Linked DNA regions of Homo sapiens: regions 2 and 3 are each linked to region 1. Evidence: promoter capture Hi-C in 16 types of primary human blood cells and fetal thymus (Javierre and others, 2016). All regions are on one chromosome and are shown on one strand. The core of a region is centred on a gene start or on the middle of the fragment in contact, and the rest is flanking DNA. Distances in the headings are between cores, read along the strand shown.

Region 1 (2,700 bases), core at 58-2,557:
TAGCCACAGGACCGGGCGTCAGTCACATTCTCCCCGCTGGCCGAATGACGCAAATAATGCTCAAATTCCATGCTGCGGTTTGCTTTGACTGGCGGAGGTGGAGGGGCGCGAAAGACGAGCCAGCATGCTGCACAGCAGGTTTAGCCTCCATGCCCGGGGTTTGGAGCAAGAGAGTGAAAACATCAGAGCTATGTCTTCAGAAGGTCTTGTGTTGTGAAACTGACTGGCAAGCTATCACAGGAAGCTAAGCGAGGTGGCAGGCTGCTAGATTAAAATGATCTCTAAACAGAATTCGCTCTCAGAGTTCATTTTCAGCCTACCTCATTAGGGCAGATTTGGTCTTCTCACATTGTTATTGCTGTATCGGAGGAATCTTTCTAAAGAGAAAAGTGACAGCACACATTGCTGCCATTTGAAAGCCAGCATTTTTAAAGGGCGTAATACATAGTGACAGTTTTGATGTATGCCCGTGGGTGTGGGTCCTGATATCTCAACATACTCTGCCTGCATAATTTAAAATGACAGTTTAGCCTGTCAAACTTAAATGTGAGTGAAGTTCCTTGGATATTTATAAAACATCAAAAAGACAGAATGGTGTCAGCAAAAGATGGGTCTTTTTATTACTAAACCACGGGACGATTTTTGGATAATTGCTGGCAACTCACCTAGAAGCTGAACTTCCAGACAAAGTATAAATTTGGTGGTGCCACAGTTTTGAAGATTATTTTCACTCAATGCAATAAAAGGATATTACAGAACTCTAGCACAAATTGTAGTCAAAGATGGAGACGCGTCAATGACCCGTTTGTTTTTAATGTGTTTTAATGTTTTTGTTTTTAATGTATCCATGGTTTCCAGTTCCCCTGAGAAAGTGGAAATTACCCATGCTAATAAAGCAAGCGTTAGTGCGAAGACCTAGCTGATGTTTGGCTGGTTTTTAGCCCGCTAGCCAGTCACCCTTTATAAAGCCTGCCAAGTTTGGAGCGTGGGTAATTTTACACGCGGGTCTCCACAGATCCTGTCTACTTCGGTAGATTTATTACTAGGAAAGTGCGTGGGGGCACTAATTTTTGTGAATTGACTAATGCGTTAGAATTTTAAAAACCGGGTAGAACGCAGCGCAGGAAGCGAGCGTTCCCCGCCGCAGCGCCGGAGCGTCCAGCCAGAATCCCCCTGCATGCGCAGCCCCTGGCGTCTTACGTCCCACAGGCCCCACCCCGGCGCCTTCCGTCCCGCAGGCTCCGCCTTTGGCGCTGGGCTCTGACGTCACCACCTGCGCCGCTCACAGTAGAAACAGGAAGTGGGACCAAAACAAAGGAGCGGCGGCCGGGAGCGGACTTACCTTACCTTCTCTGCCTTCGGCGCGCTTCTCAGCCGGGCCGCCGACCCAAAGGAGCCGTCCGACTATGTCTAACATGGAGAAACACCTGTTCAACCTGAAGTTCGCGGCCAAAGAACTGAGTAGGAGTGCCAAAAAATGCGATAAGGAGGAAAAGGCCGAAAAGGCCAAAATTAAAAAGGCCATTCAGAAGGGCAACATGGAAGTTGCGAGGATACACGCCGAAAATGCCATCCGCCAGAAGAACCAGGCGGTGAATTTCTTGAGAATGAGTGCGCGAGTCGATGCAGTGGCTGCCAGGGTCCAGACGGCGGTGACGATGGGCAAGGTGACCAAGTCGATGGCTGGTGTGGTTAAGTCGATGGATGCGACATTGAAGACCATGAATCTGGAGAAGATTTCTGCTTTGATGGACAAATTCGAGCACCAGTTTGAGACTCTGGACGTCCAGACGCAGCAAATGGAAGACACGATGAGCAGCACGACGACGCTCACCACTCCCCAGAACCAAGTGGATATGCTGCTCCAGGAAATGGCAGATGAGGCGGGCCTCGACCTCAACATGGAGCTGCCGCAGGGCCAGACCGGCTCCGTGGGCACGAGCGTGGCTTCGGCGGAGCAGGATGAACTGTCTCAGAGACTGGCCCGCCTTCGGGATCAAGTGTGACGGCAGAACCCGCTCTGAGGTTTCCTGGCCATAGCCACCCTTTGAAATGCTCTCTGTGTGTTAGAGAGATACTATACCCTAGAAACTCTGAACACGCCAGAATGCTGAAATGCCCTTCTACCTTTGGGTTTACAGCCCCCTCCACATAAATTAAGAAATTCAGTATTTCTGCACTCTTAGCTGGATTCTAAAGTTCTGTATAGCTCGTAATGATGGTATTTTTATAGCAGCCTTTTAACAGAACTAGTTAATTTCGTGTATATGAATCTTTCTCGAAGATCTGGTCAAAACTGTATTCAGTTTCCTGCCCAGAATGATCAGATTGAAGGTGGTTGGTTTTTATTATTATTTAGTGTGATTGATAGTATCTAGAATGGCAGGTGGTGCATAAAAGTTAAAGAGAGGGGAAAGATTACTTAGTTTGGTTATACAGTTATAAACACCATGCAGTGTATTCGGTGGACTGTGCTATTTCTGTTTATCCTTTGGGTTTTGGTTTTTGTTTTTTTTTTTTTTGCCTTCACAGTGAGACTGCAAATGATTGTTCTCATAACGTATATTATTAATAAATGTGGTCCTATAATTTATACTGAAATTACCTTAGGATATTTTTGCATAATACTCTCTTACTGCTTACATTCTATAAATTTTTCACGTGATAATTGTCTTTGCGTAACTGGGAAAAATGCCGAAT
Region 2 (2,700 bases), core at 73-2,572, 2.2 Mb before region 1:
AGGTTAGTAGAGGCAAAAGAATTCCCCACTGATGAGGTACTACATCCTACACAATTTGTTCCACACATTTTAATTTCATTAAGAGAAAACAAAGATGTTTAAACAGTGAGCACTAAATGGATTAGAGTGGCAGTAGTAAATTTCCTTTGTGCCTTTCTCTTAGAATTTAGAAAGCTTTAGTTGCAATCCCATTCAAAGCAATATGGGAGAGGCTTCCACAATGCCTGGCACAGAGTACGTGTGGAGGAAATGCTTATCATTTTAGATGCTTATTATTTTAAATGTTTAAATGTTTATTATTCTGAATCTGAATGGATGAGTCAAGTTGAACCAGGAAATAAACCATAGCAAACCACATATTCAAACCCAGATAAGTTCAGTGGTTAACTGCCCTGACTCTAAGCTCCCTTCACACTAAGGCTGCTCTATGGTAATATGATTCAGAAGAAATTACTTCCATTCTCATTTCACTTCTCTGTAACTGTTTGTAACAAATTGCTTGTGTCTCTGGTCCTTGGTTCCTTCCTTTGGTGGGAAAAATATTAGCACAATGACACAATATAATTCCCAGACTAGATAGCTAATACATTTTCTAACTTTTTATTTAGAAACAATTACAGATTTACATGAAGTTTCAAATGATGTGCCAGGATGTCCTATGTCACTTTCACATCAGTTCCCCCAATGGTAATATTACCGTATATATGAAACATTTTTCAGAGCGTGTGCCAGGCATCATGTTAAGCGCTTTTTCTTTTTTTTTCTTTTTTTCTTTTTTTTTTTTTTTTCTGAGATGGAATCTCGCTCCATCACCCAGGCTGGAGTGCAGTTGCACAATCTCAGCTTGCTGCAATCTCAGCTTGCTGCAACCTCCGCCTCCCGGGTACAAGCGATTCTCCTGTCTCAGCCTCCTGAGTAGCTGGGACTACAGGCGCCCACCACCATACTCAGCTAATTTTTGTATATATATATATATATTTTTTTTTTTTTTTTGTACAGACGGGGTTTCACCATGTTGGCCAGGCTGGTCTCAAACTCCTGACCTCAAGTGATCCACCTGCCTCGGCCCCCCAAAGTGGTGGGATTACAGGTGTGAGCCACCGCGTCCAGCCTGTTAAGCACTTTTATGTGCTTTCTGATTATTTAAAACAGCCCTGTGAAGTAGAAATTGATATTACCATTTTAAAAATAAAGGAAATCGAAGCTCAGAAAGGTTGGGTATTTTGACAAAGATCAAAAAGCAAATGACCTGGCACAGTGGCTCACACCTGTAATCCCAGCACTTTGGGAGGCCGAGGTGGGTGGATCATTTGAGGCCAGGGGTTCGAGACCAGCCTGGCCAACATGGTGAAACCCTGTCTCTACTAAAAATACAAAAGTTAGCTGGGTGTGGTGGCACATGCCTGTAATCCCAGCTACTCGGGAGGCTGAGGCATTAGAATCTCTTGAACCCAGGAGGTGGAGTTTGCAGTGAGCCGAGATCACACCACTGCACTCTGGCCTGGGTGACAGAGTGAGACTGTCTCAAAAAAAAAAAAAAAAAAGAAAAGAAAGAAAGCAAGCAAGCAAGCAAATAGGGGAATTAGTATTCAAACACTGGAATCCTGATTCTAAATAATGGCAATAGCGTTTGCGTATCCTCACATTCATAGCTTTTCTGTCAAAATGGTCCTTCGTCAACTTCTTTCGCATTAAGAGAACTTCTAGTCTTTCAACATGTATGGTCTTGGTATAATCTCTAATTCCATCTAAGTTATCACTGTTCCCTGAGGATTTTGTCATTGAAACATTTTAGGAGTCACCTCTTCACTCCGTTTCTCACTCAATATCCTGACCAAGATATTAACCACTTCAAAACCATACTAATAACTTTTTAACTAGCCTGTTTCAATTATTCTGGCCAAGTATACAAAAATTATCTTTCTCATATAATATTTTGTTCATCACAATTCTGTGAAATTCCCAAGCAAGTGCCTTAACAGTGTCCTCTCACCAGCTGCCCTTGGCTTGAATGGCTGCAGTTTGCCACCATTTCATTATTCGGACAAATCATCCAGGTAGACAATCTTGAACTCAGGTGCCAACTCACTTCTCCCTCAAACGATGTTCTTGGTTTTTTAGGAGGTTTTGTTGTTGCTGCTGCTTGTAGGTATGTGGCAGGTGTTGGGAGGGGTGGAATTCTACATATTTTTTTTTTTTTGAGATGCGGTCTCACTTTGTTGCCCAGGCTAGTCTTGAACTGCTGGGTTCAAGCAATCCTCCCACTTTGGCCTCCCAAAGAGCTGGGATTACAGGTGTGAACCACCATGGCCGGCCGGAATTCTACATCTTTGTAACATTTATTCTTTTCTGAATTTTCCAATTACAAAAATACATGTTTTTGGAGTGCCCAGAAAAGTATAAAGAAAAAACTAAAATCTCCAAAAATTTAGAGATAATACCCCCAAACAGTTTATGTTTACCTATTTTTTAAAGCTTTCAAAGTCCTATATTTAAAAAAGTTTAGCCTAGGCCGGGCGCGGTGGCTCACGCCTGTAATCCCAGCACTTTGGGAGGCTGAGGTGGGCGGATCACGAGGTCAGGAGATTGAAACCACCCTGGCTAACATGGTGAAACCCCGTCTCTACTAAAAATGCAAAAAATTAGCCGGGCGTGATGGCGGGCGCCTGTAGTCCCAGCTACTCGGGAGGCTGAGGCAGG
Region 3 (2,700 bases), core at 67-2,566, 2.4 Mb before region 1:
GGTTTATTCCCGCCTATCCCTACAGGCCCACGGCGCTCTTTCCTCCAATCCCACACCCAGTCGAAGGCGGGGCAGCCGCCCCACCCAGCGGCCAGCCGGGCGGCCCCCAGTCTGGTTTAACTGGTTGGAACGACTAAAGCACGCTGGCGCAAGGAAAGCTCTCAACTTCGGGAGCTGAGGCGCAGGCTGGCCAGAGCGTGGAGAGGAAAGCCCTTTCCATCCTCAAGGCCGTTGCAGGAGATGCCCGCGAGCCACCTTCGCCAGCACCACACCGGGGTAAGCCGTCCGTCCCCGAAACCCGCAAGGCCACCGACTGCGCAGGCGCCTGCAGAGCACTGGCCCTCGGCGCGTTCTCTCGCGCTCTTCTTCAGTCTCCTCAGCGAGCCTGGGGACGAAGGGGGCGCGGTGCCTCCTGGGTGTTGTAGTTTGCTTCCTTGGCGAGAGGCCTTCGGGCTGGCTGGACGCCGGGGCCTTGGGAACTACGCCTCCCAGCGCGCCCCGCGCGAGAGCCCAGGTCGCCTGCCCTTGACGGCTTCAGCCGTCTGAGCGGAGAGGAGGATCCGGGAAGCCGGCTGCGGCGGGAGGAGGGAATGCGCGTGCGCGCTGGACCGCCTCGTCCCGTTCCGTCCCAATCATTGTAAACAGGCAGAGGCTGGGCGGGGTGGGAATGGGGCGCCCGAGGCCGGCCTGGGGCGCAGCGCAGGAGGCGGCTCCGGTGGCTGCGGCGGCAGCGTGAGCGCGAGGAGGCGGAGGCTGCGGCGGGGCGGACGGTCGCGCGGCGGCAGGCACAGGTCAGTCGCAGGGAGCGGTCGCGTGCTAGGGTCGCGGCGATACCCCTGGAGTGCCCGAGGAACCCTCTCCCGCGCCGGCCTCGCGCCCGCGTCTGTCAGGCAGCGTGTGGGGCTCGGTGCTCGCAGCGCTCGGGTTTGAAGTTGGGGGTGGGGGGCGTGGCTGCCCCTGGCGTGGGTTCCTCCCCGGAAAGCTTCGCCCCAGTTTTCGCCCCCCTTGGCCGTGCGTCCCTCCCACTGGCCGACGGGCCTCCCTTCGTGGCGTCCTCGTTTGTGGTGCTCTCGGGGGCCGGGGGTGGAGAGTTAGGAGTCCCCAGGCCTCGGGGAAGCTCTTGGGGGGCGCCTGGACAGAGGCTAGGGGACCCAGCCCTCACGGTTGGTGGATCGTGCCCGGCATAGTGGCCAGGCTCCAGGGCTTACCCAGGGGACCAGGACAGGCTCCTGGTGTCGCCCACCGCTGGCACTGAGCAGTGGGCGCCTTTGGGTGCTGCGATCCTTCCTTCAGGTTTCAGTGGGAATGGACAGACAGATCTGAAGTTGAAAATTCTTTTCACAACTCATGTTCAACTATGTGTGTTGTCAGAATGCTCTTAATGAGGTCAGTGTTCTCCCTCTTTTTTTTAAAACTGATCGTTGTGAGAGTGAAACAGGTTTTACAGAATATTTAACACCTCCGTCTTCCCTGAAGTAATTCTGCTGTTTCAAGTTTTGGGATTCAGTATTACAAAGCCTTCCTCTTGAGCAAGGCCTAGTACAATTCTTCAAGGTCCCTAGCATGTTAATTCGAGGTGTTTTGAACGTGCATATACAGGAAGTGCAGCCGTTTGGCCGTTGAGTTAGTGCTCCATCCAGCCTTGTTAGAAAAGCTTTCGCTGAATTTTTAATTTAGTGGAGTGGTCATGTTCTAATGCTGCAGTACTTTGGGGAGTATTCCATTATACTTGGCAGTTATTAACGAAATACTGAACTTGTGATAAGGTTTTGTTTTGGTGCTCAGCATTTCTAAATGAATAAGTGGGACTGTGAATAAGAAAGATCACCTCACTTTCTGTTTTTAGAGTTATTGTGGTCATTTGATAACTCCTTTCTGTCTTTGTGAAAATAATTACTGTAAGCTGGAGTGGCGGTAGTAGGGGTAGGAAGGAGGTCAGTAGAGTGGTTTCCACCTCTCATTCAAAGTATCTGGTAGATCCAAGTGGGGTAGGTTAGTTAACAGTAGCTTTTTTTTTTTTTTTTTAGTTTTTTATTTTTTGAGACAGAGTTTCGCTCTTGTTGCCCAGGTTGGAGTGCAATGGCATGATCTCAGCTCACCACAGCCTCTGCCTCCTGGGTTCAAACGATTCTGCTGCCTCAGCCTCCTGAGGGGATTACAGGCATGCGCCATCACGCCCGGCTAATTTTATATTTTTAGTAGAGACATTTTCTCCATGTTGGTCAGGCTGGTCTTGAACTCCCGACCTCAGGTGATCTGCCCGCCTAGGCCTCCCAAAGCGCTGGGATTACAGGCGTGTGCCACCGCGCCCTGCCAACAGTAGTAGCTTTTGAGAAGTGACTCTTTAAACAAGGTATCTCGAAACAATGTAATACAACTTAGTTTGCTTTCTCTTCAGGATATTGTTTCTAATTATGGATCTTATCCAGACTATTTCTCCCCTAATTTAGAATAGGAAAGTGGTATCAGAAAGTGCATAATAACTTTAATTTGTACAGTTATATTTGCATAGTTGTTTGCTTGGCAAGAAGAGATCGGGCCCAGCATGTAACCCAAAAGAATATTGTTTCTGTTTTGAAAGATCCCTGATAGAAACTTATGTTAGTTTGTATAAGAGGGTACAAGGAAAAATGCAGATTATTTAGAATACAGGAATTACTATGTAGAAAGTACTGTGACCAGGTGAAGAGGACTTAAAGA

Evidence for each region. Contacts are between HindIII fragments. The CHiCAGO score rates a contact against its expected background, and 5 or more counts as called.
Region 2: a contact is called between a fragment that was not itself captured here and the fragment with the promoter of CHMP1B in region 1, in 3 of 17 cell types (neutrophils, total CD8 T cells and total CD4 T cells). The highest score is 9.0, in neutrophils.
Region 3: a contact is called between a fragment that was not itself captured here and the fragment with the promoter of CHMP1B in region 1, in 1 of 17 cell types (fetal thymus). The highest score is 5.9, in fetal thymus.

What each region holds. Positions count from the first base shown.
Region 1 is chr18:11,850,106-11,852,805 of GRCh38, forward strand. It overlaps CHMP1B (charged multivesicular body protein 1B), which reads left to right and starts at 1,308. Exons shown (of 1, transcript NM_020412.5): 1 at 1,308-2,700. The coding sequence starts at 1,407. The coding sequence ends at 2,006. All of the region lies in intron 5 of GNAL (G protein subunit alpha L), which reads left to right. RefSeq lists enhancers at 1,161-1,400, 1,669-1,718 and a silencer at 1,725-2,019. The HindIII fragment of the contact is 8,099 bases long and covers 1-2,700 here.
Region 2 is chr18:9,619,402-9,622,101 of GRCh38, forward strand. No RefSeq gene overlaps it. Among named protein-coding and RNA genes, the nearest start is that of PPP4R1-AS1, 5.9 kb to the left of the region's middle. The HindIII fragment of the contact is 2,301 bases long and covers 173-2,473 here.
Region 3 is chr18:9,474,901-9,477,600 of GRCh38, forward strand. RALBP1 (ralA binding protein 1) reads left to right here and starts at 613. Exons shown (of 10, transcript NM_006788.4): 1 at 613-791. RefSeq lists a silencer at 544-953 and enhancers at 577-1,445, 1,184-1,243. The HindIII fragment of the contact is 672 bases long and covers 981-1,652 here.